Regions from separate parts of the Homo sapiens genome. Here all the other regions are linked to region 3. The links are contacts of gene promoters, found by promoter capture Hi-C in human tissues and cell types (Jung and others, 2019). All regions are on one chromosome and are shown on one strand. The core of a region is centred on a gene start or on the middle of the fragment in contact, and the rest is flanking DNA. Distances in the headings are between cores, read along the strand shown. Region 1 holds the start of TIMM50 (translocase of inner mitochondrial membrane 50). Region 2 has its middle 24 kb from the start of ACP7. Region 3 holds the start of IFNL3 (interferon lambda 3).

The links. Contacts are between HindIII fragments. The study calls those that stand out against the background at their distance.
Region 1: a contact is called between the fragment with the promoter of TIMM50 here and the fragment with the promoter of IFNL3 in region 3, in 1 of the 25 tissues and cell types used here (spleen).
Region 2: a fragment that was not itself captured here is called in contact with the fragment with the promoter of IFNL3 in region 3 in 2 of the 25 tissues and cell types used here (liver and mesendoderm cells).

What each region holds. Positions count from the first base shown.
Region 1 is chr19:39,479,533-39,483,391 of GRCh38, forward strand. TIMM50 (translocase of inner mitochondrial membrane 50) reads left to right here and starts at 1,306. Exons shown (of 11, transcript NM_001001563.5): 1 at 1,306-1,429; 2 at 2,351-2,501; 3 at 3,353-3,384; 4 at 3,603-3,624. The coding sequence starts at 1,322. LOC124904718 (a long non-coding RNA gene) reads left to right here and starts at 3,632. Exons shown (of 2, transcript XR_007067257.1): 1 at 3,632-3,859. RefSeq lists enhancers at 994-1,588, 1,709-1,758. The HindIII fragment of the contact is 21,512 bases long and covers 1-3,859 here.
Region 2 is chr19:39,058,153-39,062,249 of GRCh38, forward strand. No RefSeq gene overlaps it. Among named protein-coding and RNA genes, the nearest start is that of ACP7, 24 kb to the right of the region's middle. RefSeq lists an enhancer at 353-854. The HindIII fragment of the contact is 6,146 bases long and covers 1-4,097 here.
Region 3 is chr19:39,242,319-39,246,424 of GRCh38, forward strand. It overlaps IFNL3 (interferon lambda 3), which reads right to left and starts at 2,688. Exons shown (of 5, transcript NM_172139.4): 1 at 2,470-2,688; 2 at 2,099-2,176; 3 at 1,690-1,839; 4 at 1,506-1,589; 5 at 1,235-1,412. The coding sequence starts at 2,649. The coding sequence ends at 1,314. It also overlaps the pseudogene IFNL4. The HindIII fragment of the contact is 34,684 bases long and covers 1-4,106 here.

The DNA.
Region 1 (3,859 bases), core at 56-2,555, 240 kb after region 3:
GTTCTGTACTAAGAAAAATTCTTCTGCCTTGAGATGCTGTTAATCTATAACCATACCCTGTTATAGATGACGGGGTTCTCTATAACCAACCCCGTGCTCTCTGAAACATGTGCTGTGTCAACTCAGGGTTAAATGGATTAAGGGCTGTGCAGGACGTGCTTTGTTAAACAGATGCTTGAAGGCAGCATGCTCCTTAAGAGTCATCACCACTCCCTAATCTCAAGTACCCAGTGACACAAACACTGCGGAAGACCGCAGGGACCTCTGCCTAGGAAAGCCAGGTATTGTCCAAGGTTTCTCCCCATGTGATAGTCTGAAATATGGCCTCATGGGAAGGGAAAGATCTGACCGTCCCCCAGCCCGACACCCGTAAAGGGTCTGTGCTGAGGAGGATTAGTAAAACAGGAAGGAACGCCTCTTCGCAGTTGAGACAAGAGGAAGGCATCTGTCTCCTGCCCGTCCCTGGGCAAGTCTTGGTATAAAACCCGATTGTATGTTCCATCTACTGAGATAGGGGAAAACTGCCTTAGGGCTGGAGGTGGAACATGCGGGCAACAATACTGCTCTGTAAGGCACTGAGATGTTTATATGTATGCATATCTAAAGTACAGCATTTAATTCTTTACCTTGTCTATGAACCGTTGTTCACGTGTTTATCTGCTGACCCTCTCTCCACTATTATCCTATGACCCTGACGCATCCCCCTCTCCAAGAAACACCCAAGAATGATCAGTAAATACTAAGGGAACTCAGAGGCTGGAGGGATCCTCCGTATGCTGAACGCTGGTCCCCTGGGCCCCCTTTATTTCTTTCTCTATACTTTGTTTCTGTGTCTTTTTCTCTTCCAAAGTCTCTCGTTCCACCTAACGAGAAACACCCACAGGTGTGGAGGGGCAACCCATCCCTTCAGACAATTGGGAGGTGAGGGCCGATTGCCTTACACGGTGAGACAAGCGGCCTGACTCGTGACTATTTTTTTGGACAAATCAGGCAGCCACTGACTCCCTTCATTATGGCCTCAGCTTTATCTCTGGGCAATAAGTGTGATCCCTTCCTTCGCTGCGTCCTTTGCAGGGGCGGTGGCGCTCTGCAAGGCCCAAGGGGGCGTGGTCCAGATGACTTTGAATCCCAGTTGTCGCCCCCAGGGTCAGCCAGGAGACTAGTCAGAAGCAAACGCGCCTGCGGCAATCCGCCCGATGCCTTTGGTCTCTCTCGGGCTTCCGTCCACCCGCCCCTCCCCCGCGTTTCCATTGGCTGTAGCTCCGGCCCGGGGCGGGCGAAGAGGGAGCGAGTGGGCGGGGCCGCGTGGCGTCAGCGCAAGATGGCGGCCTCGGCAGCGGTGTTCTCGCGCTTGCGAAGCGGGCTCCGGCTCGGCTCGCGGGGACTGTGCACGAGGTTGGCGACGCCGCCCCGCCGGGCCCCAGATCAGGTGAGCGGAACGAGGGTGGCCCTCTGAATGTGGGGTCCCTTCCCTGGAGTTACGGACATATCGCCGCCCCTTGGGGGTTCCGGGACGCCTCACCTCAGGGTGCTGAATGAAACGCCGCTTGTGTTTTGGGGCCCTTCCCAACCTCCTGGGTGGTTGCTCCCCTAGGCTGGAGGCTGGGAATCCAGGTGTGTCCTTAGACCCCACCTCCCACCCACGTGGGTGCCGGAGGAGGAGGGGGTTACCGTTCCCCGTTTCAGTGACCACTCAGGTGATACTTGAGCAGGAGGGGCCTGGGACGCTGGAGTCCCAGTCTGGCCGTGGGAGTTATTTTCTCTGTGGCGTTGGTGGTGGCGAGGTAGACGTTTGGGTTTCCAATTCGACTTGCCTCCATGTTGACAGAGACCCAGCCATTCTGACCTCCAAGTCTATCACTTCTGTGCCTTAGTTCCCCAAGCCCCAGACAAGTGATTGCCCTTCCCCGCCTCCGCTCCTATCCCTTACCCTATAACTCTGCTACTTTTAGCCCCAAGCAGCCGGACGTCGTAACTCCCGGTTCTGTCTGTACCCCTTCCCCCACCACTTGTGCCCTCCGTTCCCTCTCATCCCAGTGTTTAGGCCCTCCCATCCCTTATTCTCCGTGCTTTGCTTTTCTGGGCTGCAGACCCTCCAGTCCTGTTGCCTTCAGGATCCTGTGCACCTGGCCTGTTAGCTTTTAAAACTCCTGGCATCCTGGTGCGGGACAGTCTGGTTTTGACCCTCTGAGCAGCCCCACATCCTGACTGCTACTCCAGGGACACAGATGTCCAGGGCTCTGTGGGTGTCTGCCTCTTGGCTCCTGAACTTGATTCTTCTTGGACTGGAGGGTGGGGACCATCCTGACCTCTCTTCTCTCTTGGCTGACCTCCCCTTTCTCAACCGCAGGCCGCAGAGATCGGGAGCCGCGGGAGCACTAAGGCGCAAGGGCCACAGCAGCAGCCGGGCTCAGAGGGTCCCAGCTATGCCAAAAAAGTTGCGCTCTGGCTTGCTGGGCTGCTTGGAGCTGGTGGGACTGTGAGCGTCGTCTATATCTTTGGTGAGGGACATATCCCTGTCCCCCAGTTTTGTTCCTTGGCCTCCCTGGTCCACTGTGGAACCTCCCACTCTTGCCCACTACCAGCTTCTCTCGTCTTCATTCCCTGGCTCCTTCCTCAATAGGGCAGCCAAATAAGACACCTACCTTGAAAACCAGGGAAGTCTTCTTTCTTCTCCCTTCCACTCCTTAAGGTTCTAGTCTTTCTAGTTGGTTCCTGTACCAGGATAAAGGAAAGAGGGGAAGATGGGGAAGGATAGGCCTGGATCAGCTTCCTAAACTTTGTCTTTCCTCAGCAGCCAAAAATCCAGCCTTCCCACTAGTTACTTTAAATCCCACAGACCCGGCCGGGCACGGTGGCTCACGCCTGTAATCCCAGCACTTTGGGAGGCCGAGGCGGGCGGATCACGAGGTCAGGAGACGGAGACCATCCTGGCTAACACGGTGAAACCCCATCTCTACTAAAAATACAAAAAAAAATTAGCCCGGTGTGGTGGCGGGCGCCTGTAGTCTCAGCTACTCGGGAGGCTGAGGCAGGAGAATGGCGTGAACCCGGGAGGCGGAGCTTGCAGTGAGCCGAGATCGTGCCACTGCACTCCAGCCTGGGCAACAGAGCGAGACTCTGTCTCAAAAAAAAAAAAAAAAATCCCACAGACCCAAAAGACCTAGCCCCAGCCCCATTTCTCTCAAAGACCCAGGAATCTTGGCTCCCAGCCCCCTCCTGGCTTGACTCCAGGAGGCTGTGCCTCTCTCTTTCCTCAGATCCAGGAGTCCAGGCCCCTTATCCCACTCCTCCCTCGGGACCCAGGGGACTGGGCCCTAATTCCTCATATTCATCCTGGTCTCCCTTGCAGGAAACAACCCGGTGGACGAAAATGGTGCCAAGGTGAGGGGGAAAGAGACCGAGGCCTTGCCAGGAGTCCTAGTCTGTGGGTGAGAGGGGTCCCCTTTGGTCTGTTCAGGCACATTGCTGGTCTGGAGTGAGCCTTTCTTTCCCAGTGACCTTTGCCTGTTCCTCTTGGGGTCCTGGAGATTCCTTTTCTGTATGTGATGGGGTTCTGCCTCTGACATCCTAAACCTTCCATTTTTCTCTCTACCTCCCAGATTCCTGATGAGTTCGACAATGGTGAGTAAACAAGCACAGATTCTGGAGTCCCTGACCCTCTCAACTCTGTCATTTGTAAGGATGTCTCTCTCCCCATCTGGTGTCTCCGGCCCCTCCTCCTTCCACTGGGGAGGTGGGGGAGCCAGCAGCTGGATGGCTTTGTGGGGAGGGACATTACAAAGCCCAAGCCCACTTCCCTGGCCCCTCAGCCCCGAGCAGATGGTCAGAGACAGATGGGGGATTGGAGCCTTGGGTG
Region 2 (4,097 bases), core at 938-3,437, 180 kb before region 3:
GTTTTTATTGCACTCTCCAGGAAGGACAAGTGGAGGAAGAACAGCTGCAGTTTGTCTCTGTCCCTCATGCCTTCCCTGGGGGTGACGGTGGGGGAGGACCCATGGTTTAGTGGAACTTATTCTTGTGCCTATAAACCAGCTAGAGAGGAGCCGCCATTATTTATGTATTTATTTAGAGATGGAGTCTTGCTCTGTCACCCAGGCTGGAGTGCAGTGGCGAGATCTTGGCTCACTGCAACCTCTGCCTTCTGGGCTTAAGCGATTCTCCTTCTTCAGCCTCCCTCCCAAGTAGCTGGGATTACAGGCGTGCGCCAACATGACTTGCTAATTTTTTTTTTTTTTGTATTTTTATTTTTATTTTTTTTTGTTTTTTATTATTATTTTTTTTTAATTTATTTTTTTATTGATAATTCTTGGGTGTTTCTCACAGAGGGGGATTTGGCAGGGTCATGGGACAATAGTGGAGGGAAGGTCAGCAGATAAACAAGTGAACAAAGGTCTCTGGTTTTCCTAGGCAGAGGACCCTGCGGCCTTCCGCAGTGTTTGTGTCCCTGATTACTTGAGATTAGGGATTGGTGATGACTCTTAACGAGCATGCTGCCTTCAAGCATCTGTTTAACAAAGCACATCTTGCACCGCCCTTAATCCATTTAACCCTGAGTGGACACAGCACATGTTTTTGTATTTTTAGTAGAGACGTGGTTTCACCATGTTGGCCAGGCTGGTCTTGAACTCCTGGCCTCAGGTGATCGGCCCATCGTGGCCTCCCAAAGTGTTGGGATTACAGGCATGAGCCACTGCACCTGGCCAAGGAGCCTCCATTTTAGATGGTAAGTTCAATTTGGGGGTGTTGGGAAGCCCGCTGCGGCCACCCAGCTAAGCCTTTACCAACAGGCTGATATATATTTTTTTAATTTTTAATTTTTGTAGGTGTACTTATTTATGGGGTAAATGAAATGTTTTGATACAAGCATGGAATGTATAATAATCACATCCTGGAGAATGGGGCATCCATCCCCTCAAGCATTTATCCTTTGTGTTACAAACAATCCAATTATACTCTTTCAGTTATCTTTAAATAGGCGAGTTATTATTGACTATAGGCGCCCTGTTGTGTGATCAAATAGTAGGTCTTATTCATTATTTCTATTTTTTTATACCCACTAACCATCCTCTCCTCCCCCCAACCTCCACTATCCTTCCCAGCCTCTCTATGTCCATGAGTTCAATTGTTTTGATTTTTAACTCCCACAAATAAGTGAGAACATGTGATGTTTGTCTTTCTGAACCTGGTTTATTTCACTTAACATAATGGTCTCCAGTTCCATTCATGTTGTTACAAATGACTAGATCTCATTCTTTTTTATGGCTAAATAGTACTCCACTGTGCATATGTACATTTTCCTTATCCATTCATCTGCTGATGGACACTTAGGTTGCTTCCAAATTTTGGCTACTGTGAGCAGTGCTGCAATACACATGTCAGTGTAGATATTTCCTTAACAGATACACTGATTTCCATTCTATGGGGTATATACCCAGCAGTGGGATTGCTGGATCATATGGTAGCTCAAATTTTTAGGTGTTTTGTTTTTTTTTTTTTTTTTGAGACAGAGTCTAGCTCTGTCCCTCAGGCTCAAGTGCAGTGGTGTGATCTTGCTCACTGCAACCTCTGCCTCCCAGGTTCAACTGATTCTTCTGCCTCAGCCTCCTGAGTAGCTGGGATGACAGGCATGCACCATGACGCCTGGCTAATTTTTGTATTTTTAGTAGAGACGGGGTTTCACCACATTGGCCAGGCTGGTCTTGAACTCCTGACCTCAAGGGATCCACCTGCTTTGGCCTCCCAAAGTGTTGGGATTACAGGTGTGCGCCACTGCGCCCAGCCTCAATTTTTAGTTTTTTGAGGAACCTCCAAACTGTTCTCCACGGTGGTTGTACTAATTTACATTCCCACCAACAATGTACGAGGGTTCCCTTTTCTTCACATCATTGCCAGCATTTGTTATTGCCTGTCTTTTGGATATAAGGCACTTTAATTGGGGTGAGATGATATATCTCACTGTAGTTTTGATTTGCATCTCTCTAATGATCAGCGATGTTGAGCCCCTTTTCATATGCCAATAGGCGGATATTTCTAGCTGTCTGTGTGATTCCTGGGTCTACTTCTCCAAAATCAGACTGGAAGCAGAGAGGCAGTGTGGAGAGCAGATAAGAGTCAGGGCTCTGCTGCCAGACTGCCCGAGTTCAAATCCTGGCTCCACCTCTGGCTCACTGGGGGGACTTTGAGCATGCCACTCAGTCTTTCTGACCTCAGTTTCCCCCTGTATAAAATGGGGATGATAATGCTACCTATCTCATAGGGTTGTGGAGAGGACCAAATGAGCTAGTATGGGGTATTTCATGGATCCACGGAATTGGGATGGGTGTTAAAATAGATGATCTGTTGTGGTTTAATCAACAGTGGTCTTTTTTGCTTCCTTTTTTTTTTTTTTTTTTGAGATGGAGTCTCACTCTTGTTGCCCAGGCTGCAGTACAGTGGCGCAATCTTGGCTCACTGCAGCCTCTGCCTCCTGGGTTCAAGCAATTTTCCTGCCTCAGCCTCCTGAGTAGCTGGGATTACAGGCATGTGCCACCACGCCCGGCTAATTTTGTATTTTTAGTAAAGATGGGGTTTCTCCATGTTGGTCAGGCTGGTCTCGAACTCCTGACCTCAGGTGATCCACCTGCCTCCGCCTCTCAAAGTGTTGGGATTACAGGCGTGAGCCACTGCGCCTGGCCTTTTTTATTTTTATTTTTATTTTTTTTTTAGATAGAGTCTTCCTCTGTCGCCCAGGCTAGAGTGCAGTGGCACGATCTCGGCTCACTGCAACCTCCGCCTTCCGGGTTCAAGTAATCCTCCCGCCTCAGTCTCCTGAGTAGCTGAGATTACAGGTGTCTGCCACCATGCCCAGCTAATTTTTGTCTTTTTAGTAGAGACAGGGTTTCACCATGTTGGTCAGGGTGGTCTCAAACTCCTGGCCTCAGGTGATCCACCTGCCTCGGCCTCCCAAAGTGTTGGGATTGCAGGTGTGAGCCACTGCACCTGGCTGCTTTATTTTTTTCTTTCTAAGATGGCTCTTATGCACAGAGCACCTTAGAGTTGGTGTAATAGGGCACATGGGAAGGCTAAGAGCAGTGCTTGTAGCACAGAAAGTAGCATGTGACTGTTGATCAGTATCATTACTGTTAATTCCCCTCAAACACCCCACAGCTCCCTCCGCTCTCTTGAGGGAGTCCCGCAGAAAGACAGCTTCTCTCTCTCTCTCATTCTGTCTTTCTCTCTCCCTTGCCTCTGCTGAACTCAAACAAGAAAGCGTGTTGCAGTGGTGTTGGCAGCCTTTCACTTACAACCTTATCTTCAGGATGAAGATAAAACTAGATAGAGATTGCAGAGCAGAGAAACGGGAACCCAGGATGCCAATGACATCAGTGAGCATCTGGACAGACTACACATCTTCTGTGGGTTTCCTGTTACTTGCAGCCCAAAGCATTCATATGTGGAGTGTGTGTGTGTGTGTGTGTGTGTGTGTGTGTGTGTGTGTGTGAAATGTTCTCCTGAAAGCACTGGGGGGTTTCTGAGACTTCTGAACATGGGCTATCTTTACTAGTGTTTTTTCAGGCCTGTCTCCCACTCCTGAGCCCCCTAAGCCAGTATTCTCTCCAACAAGGCCTCTTTCCCTACCCCATGCTACAGATCTCTGGGAAGCTGAGCCCAGTGGTCTGATTGACAGGTGACTCCAAGATGTTGCTTGTTCAAAGATGCTGAGATCTCTCTGGAAATTGTCACTAATTTCCACTTAGGACAGCATTTCCCAAAGAGTGGAATATGCTAGTGAGATTTGACACATTTAGGTGGTACACAAAACATTTGTTATGTGAATAGCTCTGTGTTTTCTTTTTTTCTTTTTTAGAGATAGGGTCTCACACTGTCACCCAAGCTTGAGTGCAGTGGTGCAATCTTGGCTCACTGTAGCCTCGGCCTCCTGGGCTCAAGTGATCCTCCCACCTCAGCCTCCCAAGTAGCTTGGACTACAGGCACACGCCACAGTGCCCAG
Region 3 (4,106 bases), core at 1,438-3,937:
TTTGATCACTGTATTACAATCAGAGTTGGATTCCTTTGTCCTGCACGTGTTCTTTCCTTCTGAGAAGGGTCCGTAGGCTTTTCAAGGCTGCCGTGAGGTCCGGTGGGTGAAGATGATGAGGGAGCCCTGTCCCGGGGACTGTGGAGCACAGAACTGCCAGGAACCAGGGCCCCTGGATGACTGAGTGGGGCCATCCTGCCAGGGGGAGCGCTCACCTTGGGAGGAGGAGCTGGTGGAGAATGACACTCTGTGGTTTGTAATTCATGATCACTGTATTTGGGGGACTCTTTGTTCCAGCAGCTCAGCCAACTCTACTCAGCAGGGGTCCCTGATCCAAGTTGTCCTCCTCATCTGTAGGGGCTTATCCAGGGTTAGTGAGACCTCATGTTTGCTTATACAATTCAGGGGCTTCTTGGAAAGAGAATGGGCTGGACCCGGTGACTCAAGCCTGTAATCCCAGTTCGGGGAGGGGCTGGAGAGGGTGGAGGATGGTGCCGAGGAGAGAGAATCACTTGAGCCCAGGAGTTTGAGGCTACAGTGAGATGTGATCACGCAAGAGACAGGATCTTGCTGTTGCTCAGGCTGGTCGTGAACTCCTGACCTCAAACAGTCCTCCCATCTCAGCTTCCACCAGTAGCTGGGATTATGGGCTTGTGCCACCACACCCAGCCAATTCTCTAATTTTTTATAGAGACAGGATCTTGCTATGTTGCCCAGGCTGGTCTGGGCTCAAGTGATCCTCCCAACTCAGCCACCCAAAGTGCTGTGATTACAGGCTTGAGCAATCACATCCAGGCTCTAAATTAATTTTAAAGATGCTTCATTTCACCCAATACATCCAAAGTGCTATCATTTCAACATCTAATGAATATATAAATTATAATTAAGCTGTTTTACTTTTTTTTTTTTCTCCACAGTAAATCTTCAAATTCTGGGGTATGTTTTACACTCACTGAAAAAATGAGGTTGCACCACCTACATTCCAGGTGCTCGATAGTGACATGTGACCTGGGGACCCCAGTGGACAGCACAGACTCAATGAACCTGCTGTTCTAGATGCTACTTTTAGGGTAATTTGTTATGGCAGCAATGCAAAGGAAATACACACCAACGCACACACAGTCCCACGTCATGGGTGTCTTTTCCTCATTGTTTATTTCAACAAGGATTTCAAAAAGTAGAAAAATAAACATTTTCCTGGAGGTGAGTTGGATTTACATACACAAATACATAAATAGCGACTGGGTGACAATAAATTAAGCCAAGTGGCTAATTTATAAATAAAATCTCAGGTTGCATGACTGGCGGAAGGGTCAGACACACAGGTCCCCGCTGGCAACACAATTCAGGTCTCGCGTGAGGAGGCGGAAGAGGTTGAAGGTGACAGAGGCCTCGAGGCAGCCAGGGGACTCCTGTAGGGAGGAGGGGATGGGTCAGGGGCTGTCTGGGTTCTGGGCTCCCAGTGGCTCCCCAGACCTCAGTCCCTCTCTTCCCGGGTCACTCACCTTTTTTGGGGCCTCCTGGAGCCGGTGCAGCCAATGGTGGAGGCGGCCCCGGGTCCTGGGCCCTGCCGTGGGCTGAGGCTGGATCTGTGGGCAGAGGAGGGCGGTGTGTGAGCCGGGGCCTTGGCCAGGGGAAGGACGCTGCTCAGAGCTCACAGACCTGGGTGCCCGGGCCCTGACGACTCACACAGGCCCGGAGCTGGGAGAGGATATGGTGCAGGGTGTGAAGGGGCTGGTCCAAGACATCCCCCAGGGCTGGGTCAGTGTCAGCGGTGGCCTCCAGAACCTTCAGCGTCAGGGCCAGCTCAGCCTCCAAAGCCACGGGGCGCTCCCTCACCTGAGGAGAGGTGAGAAAGAGCAGGTGAGGGGGGAGGTGAGGGGAACAGGTTGGGGGAGGAGGATAGAGAGGAACAAGTGAAGGTGACAGGCACAGGGGAGAGGGCACAGCCAGTGTGGTCAGGTAGGAGCAGAGGGAAGGGGTAGCAGGTGTGGGGAGAGGAGAGAGGGACAATGGAGAAGGAGAAGGTGAAGGGGCCACTACAGAGCCAGGTGAGCAGGGCTGGGAGGGCAGGGGTGGGCCTGACTCCCCCTCTCACCTGCAGCTGCCTCAGGTCCCAGGTCCTGGGGAAGAGGCGGGAGCGGCACTTGCAGTCCTTCAGCAGAAGCGACTCTTCCTAGACAGCAAAGGCACAGGTTAGCCCCAGCAGGAGGGGTGGAGGTTAGACCACTCTGATGGGATTGGAGGATGGCTGACAACAGGATAGGGGAGGTTAACTGCTGGGAGGATGGTAGAGGACCCTCTTCTTCAGGAAAACATGAGTCAGTCCCTGCAGTAGGAGCATGAGATAGCCCACTGCAGGGAGGGTGGAGGCTAGCCCAGTGAAGGAAGCTGGGAGTGGGAAAGCATGGTGACCCTTGGAGTGCGGGTGGAGGCTAGTCCATGGCAGGAGGGCAGGGGGAGACTCACTAAGGCATCTTTGGCCCTCTTAAAGGCCTGCAGCTCCTGTGGAGACAGGGACTTGAACTGGGCTATGTGGCAGCCCCTTGCATCCGGGAGAGCCCCGCGGAGCCTGGCGACAGGAACTGCTCCAGTCACGGTCAGCACTGCGGCCATCAGCACCAGCACTGGCATGCAGTCCCCGGTCATGTCTGTGTCACAGAGAGAAAGGGAGCTGAGGGAATGCAGAGGCTGCCCACTGAGGGCAGGGGCTGCAGGAGCTGAGCACGGACAGAGATGTGGGACTCACCTAGTTTCATTCCTGATCTCTGGTCTTTGTCAGCAGAAGAAACACTCTGAGGCTGTCACCCAGGGTCTGTTTGGGTCTTGTCTGGAGTCTCTGTTCTTTTCAGTCCCCTCTTCTGGATCTCAGACTGTGTCCTGGCTTTGACTCTTTCTGTCAGTTTTGAGCTCTGTCTGGGATGTAATTCCTGCCTGAGCTCCATGGGGCAGCTTTTATCCCTGACAGAAGGGCAGTCCCAGCTGATGTAGGAAAAGTGAAAACACAGCCTCAGGTAAGACACCGGCCACCAGGGGAGCCCCAGGCTGGGAAAGCCCAGAGCAGGGCAGGGCTAGTGAGCCAGATGAGCAGCTGGAGGGAAAGAGAAACTGATGGAGACTCAGGGGTAACCTACAGGAAGGTATGTTCCCAAGAGGATTCCACCTGCTCTGGTTTTGTTGTTGTTTAAGACAGGGTCTCACTCTGTCACTGCAGTGCAATGGCATGATCACAGCTCACTGCAGCCTCAAACTCCTGGGCTCAAGCCATCCTCCTCACCCAGCCTATTAAAGTGCTGAGATTACAGGCCTGAGCCACCACTCCTGGCATATATATATATATATATATATATATATTTTGAGACAGGGTCTTGTTCGGTCACCCAGGCTGGAGTGCAGTGCAAAATCTTGGCTAACTGCAACCTCCGCCTCCTGGGTTCAAGCAATTCTCTTGCCTTAGCCTCCCAAGTAGCTGAGATTACAGATTTGTGCCACCATTCCCAGCTAATTTTTATATTTTTAGTAGAGATGGCGTTTCACCATGTTGGCAAGGCTGGTCTCAAATTCCTGATGTCAAGTCATCTCTCTGTCTAGGCCTCCCAAATTGCTGGGATTTCAGTGTGAGCCACCATGCCCAGAGGCCAATATTTCTTAATTGCCCAGGCAAGGAAGGACTCAGGAATATGAGGCTCTGCTCAAGAATTGAGGTGTGACGAAGGACTTGAAGGACACCACGTGGGTGCCGTCTTTCTTAGGGAAGTTCAGGCAGTGGTGAAGAGCATGGGTCTTGGAGATGAAGGGTCTGGGGTTCAAACCTGGTTCTGACCCTCACTAGCCGTGTGACCTTGGCAAGGAGGGGTGCATTCAGCAACGCAGATTGCTAATGCACAGATTTGGAGAAAAAATTAATAACACAATTGTTTGTGTATTTATGTGAGTGATTATTTAATAGAATCCACTCATTAAGACCATACTAGGACCTCAGCTGGAGAGTTTAAAACGTGATCTCAACGGACACTACTCCTCCACAAGGCAAGTATGCTAACCCATCCTATAGGTGAGGAAACAGAGGCTCAGAAAAGTAATTTGCCCTGAATTCCACTGTAATT